3 separate regions of the Homo sapiens genome follow, and all the other regions are linked to region 2. The links are contacts of gene promoters, found by promoter capture Hi-C in blood cells and fetal thymus (Javierre and others, 2016). All regions are on one chromosome and are shown on one strand. The core of a region is centred on a gene start or on the middle of the fragment in contact, and the rest is flanking DNA. Distances in the headings are between cores, read along the strand shown.

The links. The method cuts DNA at HindIII sites, captures the fragments that hold promoters and counts their contacts. A CHiCAGO score of 5 or more calls a contact.
Region 1: a fragment that was not itself captured here is called in contact with the fragment with the promoter of RNGTT in region 2 in 1 of 17 cell types (fetal thymus); the score reaches 5.5 in fetal thymus.
Region 3: a contact is called between a fragment that was not itself captured here and the fragment with the promoter of RNGTT in region 2, in 1 of 17 cell types (fetal thymus). The highest score is 5.2, in fetal thymus.

The regions. Positions count from the first base shown.
Region 1 is chr6:87,158,894-87,162,365 of GRCh38, reverse strand. The region is part of intron 1 of ZNF292 (zinc finger protein 292); the gene reads right to left. Among named protein-coding and RNA genes, the nearest start is that of ZNF292, 5.1 kb to the right of the region's middle. The HindIII fragment of the contact is 3,364 bases long and covers 1-3,069 here.
Region 2 is chr6:88,961,600-88,965,445 of GRCh38, reverse strand. It overlaps RNGTT (RNA guanylyltransferase and 5'-phosphatase), which reads left to right and starts at 1,828. Exons shown (of 16, transcript NM_003800.5): 1 at 1,828-2,100. The coding sequence starts at 2,037. RefSeq lists a silencer at 1,531-1,765 and enhancers at 1,749-2,128, 2,483-3,409. The HindIII fragment of the contact is 1,727 bases long and covers 1,441-3,167 here.
Region 3 is chr6:90,284,132-90,287,706 of GRCh38, reverse strand. The region is part of intron 1 of BACH2 (BACH transcriptional regulator 2); the gene reads left to right. Among named protein-coding and RNA genes, the nearest start is that of BACH2, 11 kb to the left of the region's middle. RefSeq lists an enhancer at 1,661-2,161. The HindIII fragment of the contact is 2,482 bases long and covers 221-2,702 here.

The DNA of each region.
Region 1 (3,472 bases), core at 138-2,637, 1.8 Mb after region 2:
TAATGTAACATGTATATAAACAAAAGAATCAACTTGTATCAAACTGATGAGACATAAAATATACAAAGAAATGTCCTAAATATGTAATCTAAACATTCTGTAGCTCTAACAGTTTTAATTTGGTTTTTATTTCTTATACCAATCAGGCACCAATAATGGCTAACAAAGGTAATGAAGACTAGCTCAAATAGTACCTCCTCAGGAAAGCCTTCCCTGATACCCCAGCCTGAAGTGCTTACTACCTACTTTGAACTCTTTAAGTTGCTATACATAAAATTAACTTACTCTCCTAAATATCCACTGATAATGAACTGATTAATTAGACCCAGCCATAGACTAGAATTACTATATACTATAATAGGGAAAGCCAAAAACTTACATGAGCAGCTATGGAATGAGCTAGAAGATGCTTTTGGGGGGAGGGAAAGCAAGATACAGTGTAGTTATCTTTATTTTCTTAAAAAGAGCAAACTAGTTCTGGAAACCATTAGGGGATTTGTCTTTGTGGAAATGAGACTGGAACTCTAGAATGGGAAAAAGATCAAGTTTTCATTGTATGCCCTTTCTCAGGGTGAATTTTAAAAAACCATTTCAATTAGTACATTTTCAATTTAAAACAAAACAAAACAAACAACAAAAAAGCAAAACCAGGCTGGGTGCAGTGGCTCACGCCTATAGTCCCAGCACTTTGGGAGACCAAGGTGGGAGGACTGCTTGAGCACAGGAGTTTGAGACCAACCTGGGCAATGTAGGGAGATCTTGTCTCCACAAAAAATTTTAAAGTTAGGCATGTTGATGTGCACCTGTGGTCCCAGCTACTCAGGCTGAGGCAAGAGGATCGCTTAAGCCCAGTTGGTCAAGGATGCAGTGAGCCGTGACTGTGTCACTGCACTCCCACCTGGGTGACAGAGTGGAGACCCTGTCTCAAAAAAATAAAAATAAAGCAAAACAATTTGTTAGTTAATACACTGCCTTTTGACATCTTTTCAGCTGTCATTTTGAAGTGATATTTAAATATTATCTTACTAATTTATATCCCACTAGTTGCCCGTATCTTTTATCTCCTATAACATCTAAACCTAGGTCCTTGCATATAAATGCTTTCTTAAAAGTACAGAATTTATTATATCAAAATGTCAAATCTTTTCTTTAATCAGGATAATTATGCTGAATTTGCTACCCTCTTTAACCTAGCAAAAGTTGTTTTACTAACTGTTTATGCAATTGCTTGTAATTTCTGCTAAGAAAGTAGAAAGTTTCTTGACCTCTCATGGTCAGTATAAATTATACTTAAATATTGTTGAATATCATTTACCTGGACCTGTTCCAAATAAAGTATATTTCTGGAGCTTAACTATCTCAATATGAAAAGAGTAGAAGGACTAAAAAAAAAAATCTTCTAGATATACTATTTTTCTTTCTGTTCAATGTTTCTGAAAAGGGTACTTAGAGGAATTACGCTTTCATTTGTTGGGACGGTCCTGATCACTTCAGAAAACTTAGCATTGAAGCTCATGGGCACTAAATGCCAGTACCACATCCCTAGTCATAGCAACATCCAAAAACCTGATCCCACATATTTCTAAGTGCCATCAAAGAGAGAACTGGAGGTAGGGAAAGTACTATGCCCAGTTGAGAAGCCCTGCTTATATGAACTAAGAAAATTATATATATATATATACACACACACATCATATATATGTATATATACACACACACACACCGTATACATGTATGTATACACACACACATCGTATATATGTATATATACACACAAACATATTTTTTTATTAGAGTCTCCTGTATCTTATATCCTCTGTAACATCTAAACCTAGGTCCTTGCATATATATACACACACACACACACACACACATATATATACAAACACATGTACGTATGTATACACATACACACACGACTGTAATTCAACCCTTCAAAACAACTGTCAGCCACCAGATCACTACTGATCAATGGTCAATAACAGTTACAATCAACCAGTCGGCCAGTCCAGTATATAGTGCTGTCAGCAAATATCATACTCCAACAAATCAACTATTACAATGGCCAATTTTTCCAACGAACTATTATTTTAAAATCTCTTTAGAACAACTCCTCTGTTGGAATGTTTCTTTTAAAACTCCCAAATAACCTCCCTCTTTACTGTACTCACCTCAGTGATAAAATATATAAATCATAGTTTACTACGATTATCTGTCTACCTTCCTCCAGAGACTATAAACTCTTTGAAGCCAGGGACCATGATCATCCTTGCCTAGCCTGTATACAGTAGATGTTCAATAGAAATGTTGAATGAGTGACTACTGGCCCAGTCTAATACAATTAACTAGTCTAAAAGGTTCCAATTATAACCAATTTTTGTATAATAAATACAGTAATAATCCTAAAACAAGTAAATGCAAGAAATTACTTCTGGTTATTCTATATACTTATTCTAAGTCAATTTTAAGAAAATGAGTTGGTTATATTGCCCATATTAAAGCTAACTTTGAAAAGATACAAGGAAATTTAAGAGCTGGGCATGGTGGTGTATGCCTGAGGTCTCAGCTACTTAGAAGGCTGAGACAGGGCCGGGCGTGGTGGCTCACGCCTGTAATCCCAGCACTTTGGGAGGCCAAGAGGGGCGGAACCAGCCTGACCAACAAGGAGAAACCCTGTCTCTAGTAAAAATACAAAATTAGCCGGGCATGGTGGCACATGCCTGTAATCCCAGCTACTCAGGAGGCTGAGGCAGGAGAATTGCTTGAACCCAAGAGGCGGAGGTTGTGGTGAGCCCAGATTGCGCCATTGCACACCAGCCTGGGTGACAGAGTTAAACTACATCTTTTTTAAAAAAAAAAAAAAAAAAAAAGAAAGAAAAGAAAGCTGAGACAGGAGGATCACTTGAGCCTAAGAGTTTGAGGTTGTAGTGTGCTATGATCATACCTGGGCAATGTAGCAAGACCCCATCTCTCAAAAATAAAATAAAATATATAAAAAAATTTAAAATTTATGACGGGCGCTCTACTATGCCCATCCTCTACTTACTCTTCCCTCCTCCCACTTAAGCTTTAAGCAAATTCTCATTTAAATAAGCAAAGGGGGGGCAGGTGGCTTATTTCCAGAATGAGCAAAACAACACTGTTAATAAGAAAAACATTTAATGCCTTTCGTTTCTATTCTGCTACTCAGAATTCAAAAAATCTATTAATCTTCTACCTCACTCAAAAATAAAAATCTATAAACTACGGATCATAAGCAACTCCTGTTTCTGTGGGTTTCACCACATTCTCCAGAAACTGAACTTTTGCTCATAAAAATTACATAGAATGTAAACTAATTCATTTTTTAAAGTAAATGCAAAACTAAGGGTTACACAAGCACTGAGCATCAACACTGACAGAATATTAATTCTGAAGCCCATTAACTTTGACAAACGTTTATTCATCTTTGCCTTCTTGAAGCGTGTGACTA
Region 2 (3,846 bases), core at 579-3,078:
CACTCTTCCTTATGGGCAAAATGGATGTTTGATGAAAGACTCACCAATGAAGAGAATCTACATCTGATAAAGAGGAGATCAAGACATATCTGGGAGGGTGTCAGGGGTTCCAGGAAGCGGGGGAGGAATCATGTTGGTCTGTCTGTGAGCATCTATTTTTCTTCTCACAGAGTAGTAGAAACTTGGGACTAGGAGCAATATAGGCAGAAACACACATCAGGCAAGGCATTCCTGACAGGCAGAGAGAAACTGCCTGCTCATCGGGATGCCACTCTCCTACTCTACTCTCTATTGTGGACAAAAGGTAGCCACAGGGTCCTCCCAATTCTGTGGCAATGAGTATGGAGAGGGCATAACTGGATAGCAGAATAAAAATCCAGTGCACATTGCTGCCTTACAGCCAATAACAGTTGCTCGCCAGTGGTATGAAGCTTCTGTGTGCCTAGGACTGAGCTACTGGGTATAGCGTGTGTGGGAAGGGGAGTCACCAAGGGGAGTCATCCCCAGAAGGGGAAGGTAAGATACTCTTCCAGGATCAGGCTCACCTTTCCCATCCTTGGAGGGGGTCTGGGGATGGAAGGTTTTTACCACTTTGGGCATGGTACACACTCTATCAGCAGAAAAGGGAATTCATCGGAGATTATTTGGGTAGACTGATGGCCTTAAAGGAAACTGGGTATTATCTTGTTCTGTCAGGGGAGGAGTTTACACCTTCACTAACAGTTCTGAGCAGATGCAACAGCAGGACAGACCAGAAGTGTGACCTAACTCAGGCTGCCTCAGAGAGATTGCTGTTGGACTGCCTCTATTGATGGGACTCTTACTGAGGGGGTCCAGGCATTCAGGGGGTTGAGCGTCCCAGAAAGTTCCCCACCGACGCTTTAAAAATGTATTCCCTGCAGCCTTACGTTCTTGCAGTTCCAATATAGCATTGGTGTTTAAAGCCAAACTACATTATAATTGATTCGCCATCATCCAGCTTTATATTTAACACTTTAATCTGGTAACAAAGGAAAGGCTCGTTAAAGGACGGCATTTATAAAAATTTTTCAAGCACCTCTGCTTAACTCGAAGGGAAAATAAAAGGCACTGTTTATTTGGTAGGCCAAGGAGAACAACGCCACGAAGAGGTTCTCCACTGATCAATTCCTACCTTTGTCAATTATACCACATTAATTAGTAACTTTTTTTGGAGACATGGACCCTCTCAAACTCCCCAGTATGCTTTGAAACTTTGATCCAGAAATGTACAAACAAAACTCTAAGTGTTCTGGAATTAATTTCAGAAGCTTCATAGATCCTCGTAAGTACTCACCAAAAGAAAAATTCCCCATTTCTGGTACTCCAATCTCATGTCCTTAGAATTCTCCTAAGACTTGTTCCCTTGAACAACTTTCCCTAATTGCAAATCAAACCTAGATCCGGCTGGGACGCCAAGCTTGAGCTGTGGTAACGCTCAGAAGGCCTCTTTTCATCAGTAAAATAGATGCCTTAACGGAAGTGGCGGGCAATCTACGCATGGAAAGGCGCTTGGCTTCCCTCTTTTTTGGGTTTCTCTAGGTTGTCTGGATGGGAAAAAAATACACGCTTCGTCCTGCGGAGTTCGGTACGAGGGCAATTGCACATGCGCAAAGGCGAACCAGTAGCGTCCGGGCGCGTCCGTGGAGCGGGACGGGGCGGGGCGGGGCGGTGCCGAGTGGGGCGAGAGAAGGCCCGCTCCTCCCATTCGTCGCGTCCTTAACTCTTTGCTATCCTTCCGCTGAGCTTCCTCTTCTTTCCCTCTGACCTCGGAAAGGGGGCGGGGCTTTCGGGGGCGGAAGTTGCGGTGCATTGTGGGTTCTCCTGGAGCTGTGGAGTTGATCCTGAATGAAAGTGGCGCGCCGCCCCTGACGTTACCCGGATCGGAGAGGTTGGAATTCAGATTACGGCTGCGATTCGGGTGTCTCGGACCCCGGTGTGCACCGGACCACGGGGAGGCGGCTCCAAAGGCGCGGTGAACGTTGGTGAGGGAGGGCAGCTCTGCGCAGCCCCAAGACATGGCTCACAACAAGATCCCGCCGCGGTGGCTGAACTGTCCCCGGCGCGGCCAGCCGGTGGCAGGTAACCTGGACTGGGGGGCGTTCGAATCCCCACACTCCAACGTGCCCGGGGGTGGGCCGACTGAGGAGCTCAGCTTTTGGTGGTTCTGTGCCCATTAGTGGTATTTCAGGAGCGGGATATGCTCCGTCGGATTACGCTTCGTGGATGAATGGGAACATGAACGGGAGGGGATGGTCGGCGGATGGGGGGCACTTGTTACTATTCCTGCAAGGCTAACTGTGCGAATGTGAAGGTAGACAGGAGGTTGGTGGCAGGAGGTGAGGATCCAGGAATACAGTGGGCGTACTTTGAGTCTTAGTAGTTTGCGAACCTGTTAGGGTTCAACCTTCCCCTCGAAAGAAGGGATGAATATCAGTATTGAGATGGAGGAGGGTTAAGGAGGGAAGGGGCGGTTCCCAGCGGTGAAATGGGGTCACATTGAGACTGGGAATCTGGAGGGTGTTTTTGTTAGTTTTTTATTTTTATTTTCTTGTGAGACAGGGTCTCTTGCTCGGGCTGGGGATCCTCCCACCTCAGCCTCCCAAGTAGCTGGGACTACATGCTCCTGCCACCGCACCCGGCTAATTTTTTTATTTATTAAAGTATATATATATTTATAATGTATATATTTGAGACATAGTCTCTCTCTGTCGTCCAGGCTGGAGTGCAGTGGCGTGATCTCGGCTCACTGCCTCAGCCTCCCAAGTAGCTGGGATTACAGGCGCGTGCCACCACACCCGGCTAATTTTTGTTTTTAGTAGAGACAGGGTTTCATCGTGTTGACCAGGCTGGTCTCCAACGCCTGGCCTCAAGTGATCCGCCCGCCTCGGCCTCCCAAAGTGCTGGGATTACAGCCGTGAGCCACTGTGCCTGGCCATAATTTTTTTGTTTATTTTTTGTGGAGACAGGGTTTCACTGTGTTGCCCAGGCTGGTCTTGAACTCGTGGACTCAAGCGATGCTCCCACTTCGGCCTCCCAAAGTGTTGGGATTATAGGCGAGAGCCACCCCGCTTGGCCGGGTTTTTGTTTTTTTTAATTATTTTTCTTGTAGTTTTTTTCATCTTTATTGAGCTTGAATACAATAAGCTTTAAAGCGTACAGTTTGATAAATTTTGACTGTATATACACAAATATATCTCTTTCCTAGGAAACAACCATGAAACCCCTCAAAGTTTCCTCTTGCCCCTTTTTAAATCCCTCCTTCGCCTGGCAGCCACTGATCTGCTTTCTGTAATTATAGATTGGTTTGCATTTTCTAGAAATTTTTAAATAAATGGAAACATATAGTGAGTACTCTTCTTGGGGTGGAAGGAAGTGTGTGTGGCTTTTTTCACTCAGCATAATTAATTTGATACTCATCCAGATTATGCATGTATCAATAGTTTATTCCTTTTTTATTGCAGAGTAGTAGTTTATTGTTCTGGGTATACCACAATTTGTTTACCTGTTCATCTATTGATGGTCATTTGGGTTATTTCCAGTTTTTAGCTATTACAAATAAACCTGCTGTGAACATTCATGTACAATTCTTTGTGTGGACATATACTTTCATTTCTCTTGTGTAAGTCTCTAGGAGAGGAATGGCTGCATCATATGGTAGGTGTATGTTTTAAGAATTTTAAGAAACTGCCAACCTCTTTTCCAAAGTGGTAACACTTGATAGTCCCACCATCAATGTATTATACAGAAGAAATTCAAAGGACTTAAAAACTAGCAAAAAATTTGGACACTTCACAAAATAAGTTATATGAATAGCCAAAAAGCTAT
Region 3 (3,575 bases), core at 212-2,711, 1.3 Mb before region 2:
AATGGAGAGAGGGCTCGTGATAAATAAACACAACCCTAGGCAGAGAATATAGGCAAATGGATTACAGTATTTAAATCAAAGTAGTATTAAAATACAAAGAGAAGATTATTTTTAATAATACATTTGTCAGTGAGCATTTCCCGCCTTTTGCCGTACATTGGAGTTGATCACATAAACCTCTATAGCAAGATGGTATGTTATTTAACATTTAAACAAAGCTTCCAGGGAAAGCCATTTGGTTTGTGGTTAGGGATTTTTGTTATTCAGTAGCAATGAACCTGAAATTCTATATTATCTTTGCATGTTGAATTTTAGAAGAAAAAAAAAGCAGCGGATCCAACTTCACTTACCTCCCCACCCCAGTTGCATTGATACAAATTGAATTGATAAATTTATTTCAAAATTGGTGTGTCCCAATTTGACATACCACAAGCATAGTGGTGTCAGCATGGTGGTGACATCTGGACATTAGGAGAGTTGGTTGATTAATTAAACTATACTTATTTTAGATAGAGTTGTTGGCAGGTAAATACCTGGCTGTAGAGTCAACGCCCTTCAGTCCCACCTCTCCCCCACCATACCCTTCTCCAGCAACCATGCTATGTTGAGTTGATGGCTCCATCTAGTGCCAGTCTGTGGAACTGTCTTGCAGGACTTCACTGTCACCTCCAGAGCTGGGTATGATGAAGAGTCCTCTTTCTCTGGGAACACACTGTCTAGCGGGGAACTGCCCTCTAGTTCCTACCTCTCCTTTGTTTTTGCAGTTTAGTTATACCTCCGTGTCTTTCTTTGTTCCAGACTTAATTTGTTTCCCTCTCTCTAGTACCCCCTCTTTGTACTTGTTTCTCCTCCTTTTTTGTTTTCCAAGTCTCAATTTTTTTTTTGGAGAACAAAACAGTACTTAAAACCGGTAAGTATAAAGATTTTTTTTCTAACAATACTTTATGCCAAAGTAAGAGAATTCTATGCATTTTAAATGAAACTATCAATTGAAACCATGTTAGAGAACCAGAATGACCCTAAAGTTGAAGTCTGAAAGTGTCACTTGGAAGACTGTGTCCCTTCATCCTCCTGTAGTTAGACATTTCCTCAAACACAGTTAATCAAGAGTATTTTCTTTTAAATGGTTTTGGAACTATCATTGTAGTATCATTTTCTTTTTAGATTATAAATTTAACCTCTCATATTTTAAGTTCAAGACATTTTCACGGACTATCAAGGAATCCTAGCTCATTGGCCTGGCCCTATTTCTGTGGGAAAATGTATTCTCAGTTCCAGACAACCAGTGTTCCTGCAGATTTTTAGGTCCCGTATAAAACGAGAGAACATAGATGAATGAGAGGCATTGTCAGACAAAGCCTGGCACATGAGATCTCAATTAGCATACAGGTTTTAAATTTCCCACATTAAACAGTACATTTTAAATTTCCACTTATGTTAAGCGTGTTGATATTGTGGGTTTGAAAGTAAGTCCCCTCTGAAAAACAGGAACTGTGCTTGTCTGTTACCAGTTCTTGTGGTCGATATGGTAACTATTTTGATTTTTCAGAAGGGAGGAAAAGCAGTTAAATCTAGTTAAAATTAAAACCAGTTAAAATTAACTGGCTCGTGAGATTTCAGTGCAGCTGTTCCACACATAGCAACACTAAGAGTGAGTTGTTTATTACCATGATTAATTATTATTAGTTGTTACTTCTTTTTGAGCAGTGGCATAGATTATTTATATTTTTGGTCTAACCTTGGAAAATAGAAACTGCAAGCGTAGAGAGGTTCCCGTTTGCTAATTTGCATGTACCCTGTTTTTGTTTTTGCCAGGTAGGTGTGTGCATCTCAAGTACACGAGAGTAATTTAGCATGTCAGCACTTTCCTACCAGCAGTGCTTGCTGACTCATGCAGCTGTTGTAGCACTCAGCTGGCCGCACTGTAAACTGCCCATAGTACCAGCACCGCCCTTGGAGAGCTCCGGGCTGCTGGGCTGGTTAGCTACTGGGAGGCTATTTTCAGATCTGTGGTCACTGCTGAGCTGGGTCCTCTTCTCCTGCCAGCAGCCAGACACAGCCTTCTGGTTGCAGGGGAGAAAATTGGACAAATTTCTACCTTTGTAGGGACTGCATAAAGATTCATAGCATTTCTGGATATGCCTCAGGAAAACTTTTTTTTTGCTTCACTTTATTTTTCTGGGAATATTTAAGGGGAGAGGCAAAAGGGGCTGATAATAAATGAAAAGGGAATGTGCTGTTATTTCCTACTAAGATCAGAAAGAGTTTTCATAAACCTTTAACTTAGTTAGGCTTTCTTGGCGTAACTGAAACCTGACCCACTTCTCCCTCAGTGCAAAGCAGTGTGTCCTGAGTAGGGAAGCAGGGGCGAGGGTGCAAGTGACTAGCCTGACATTGTTTTATGTGGCTGAAGTCCCTAAGTGATGACAGCTTTTGTTTATATCCGTTCCCTGTTATTGAGGTTAAAAAACAAAACAAAAAACTTGACCTCAGGTCATTTTAAAGCTAGCATGTATTTTCAGAGATGGTTTCACTGTTTGTTTTCAGAGTTCAGTTTTGCTTATTTTCATCGGAAAGTGTGAAATGTTGCTTTTCTGAGGCTTCTAAATAAACTTCCTTTTGTAGATACAAGTTGATCCAATCATCATAAACTGTCTTGAAAAAGGATGATTAAAGTAAGATCAGCTGGGGAAGGGAAAGCTTTGCACACCCTTGAGGAGTTTGCCTTCTTTTTCTTAAGTTTCAATAAGCATTCTGAAGCAGCTTTGACCAGTAATAAAGAAAAGCCACAGTGACTGTGTGTAACATGATGTTGATGGAAGTTCTTGGTTTCCGCCGATACGAATGACTCATCAGTATCAATAGAATTGTGACTTCTAATAATAACACAGTGCAAGACCTTCAAAACATGTGGTTTTAGCCCTTGCTCTTAGTGAAAGGTTGGAAAATGTTAGTTTGAGCTTTTTTTTTTTAATCTCTTGATTTTGCCCAAGTATAAAGTTGTTTTTTGTAGGAATGATGATCCCCCTGTTGTTTTCTCATCTTACTGTTTTTAGTTTCATTATGATTAAGGAGCCAAACTCAGATCATTTCATCGTTTAGAAATCTCTGCGCTAAGCATCTCCTGTCGGGGCTGTGTTTGAGGGAAATGTGGCTGAAAAGCAAATCCTCCCTGAATGCAGAAAGGAAAATACTGGTGCAGACTACAATCCACTGAGCTGCGTCCCTCCTACACAGCATCTATTGCGGAGGGCTGTGGTATTGCTAAGTAGCCCCATAACCCTGTGAGTCATTGTCAAAGGATTCCAAGAGGAAGGTTAACAGAAAATGCGAGTCAGAGGAAACAGCAGAGTGGAGCAGCTAGCTCAGGAAGAACTGTGCTACCTGCTGAGGGGCTGCCCAGATGTCACCAGGAATTCAGGTGTACGTTCATCTTTTTGCAGCCCATTTCCGTATGTCTACATATGGGGACATTTTTGTTTTTTGTTTAGTTTTGGTTGGTTTTGCTGCAGTTTGGCCAGACTATCAGAGATCACTATCTTAGCTTCGTATCACAGTGGTCTTATCCCAGAGCC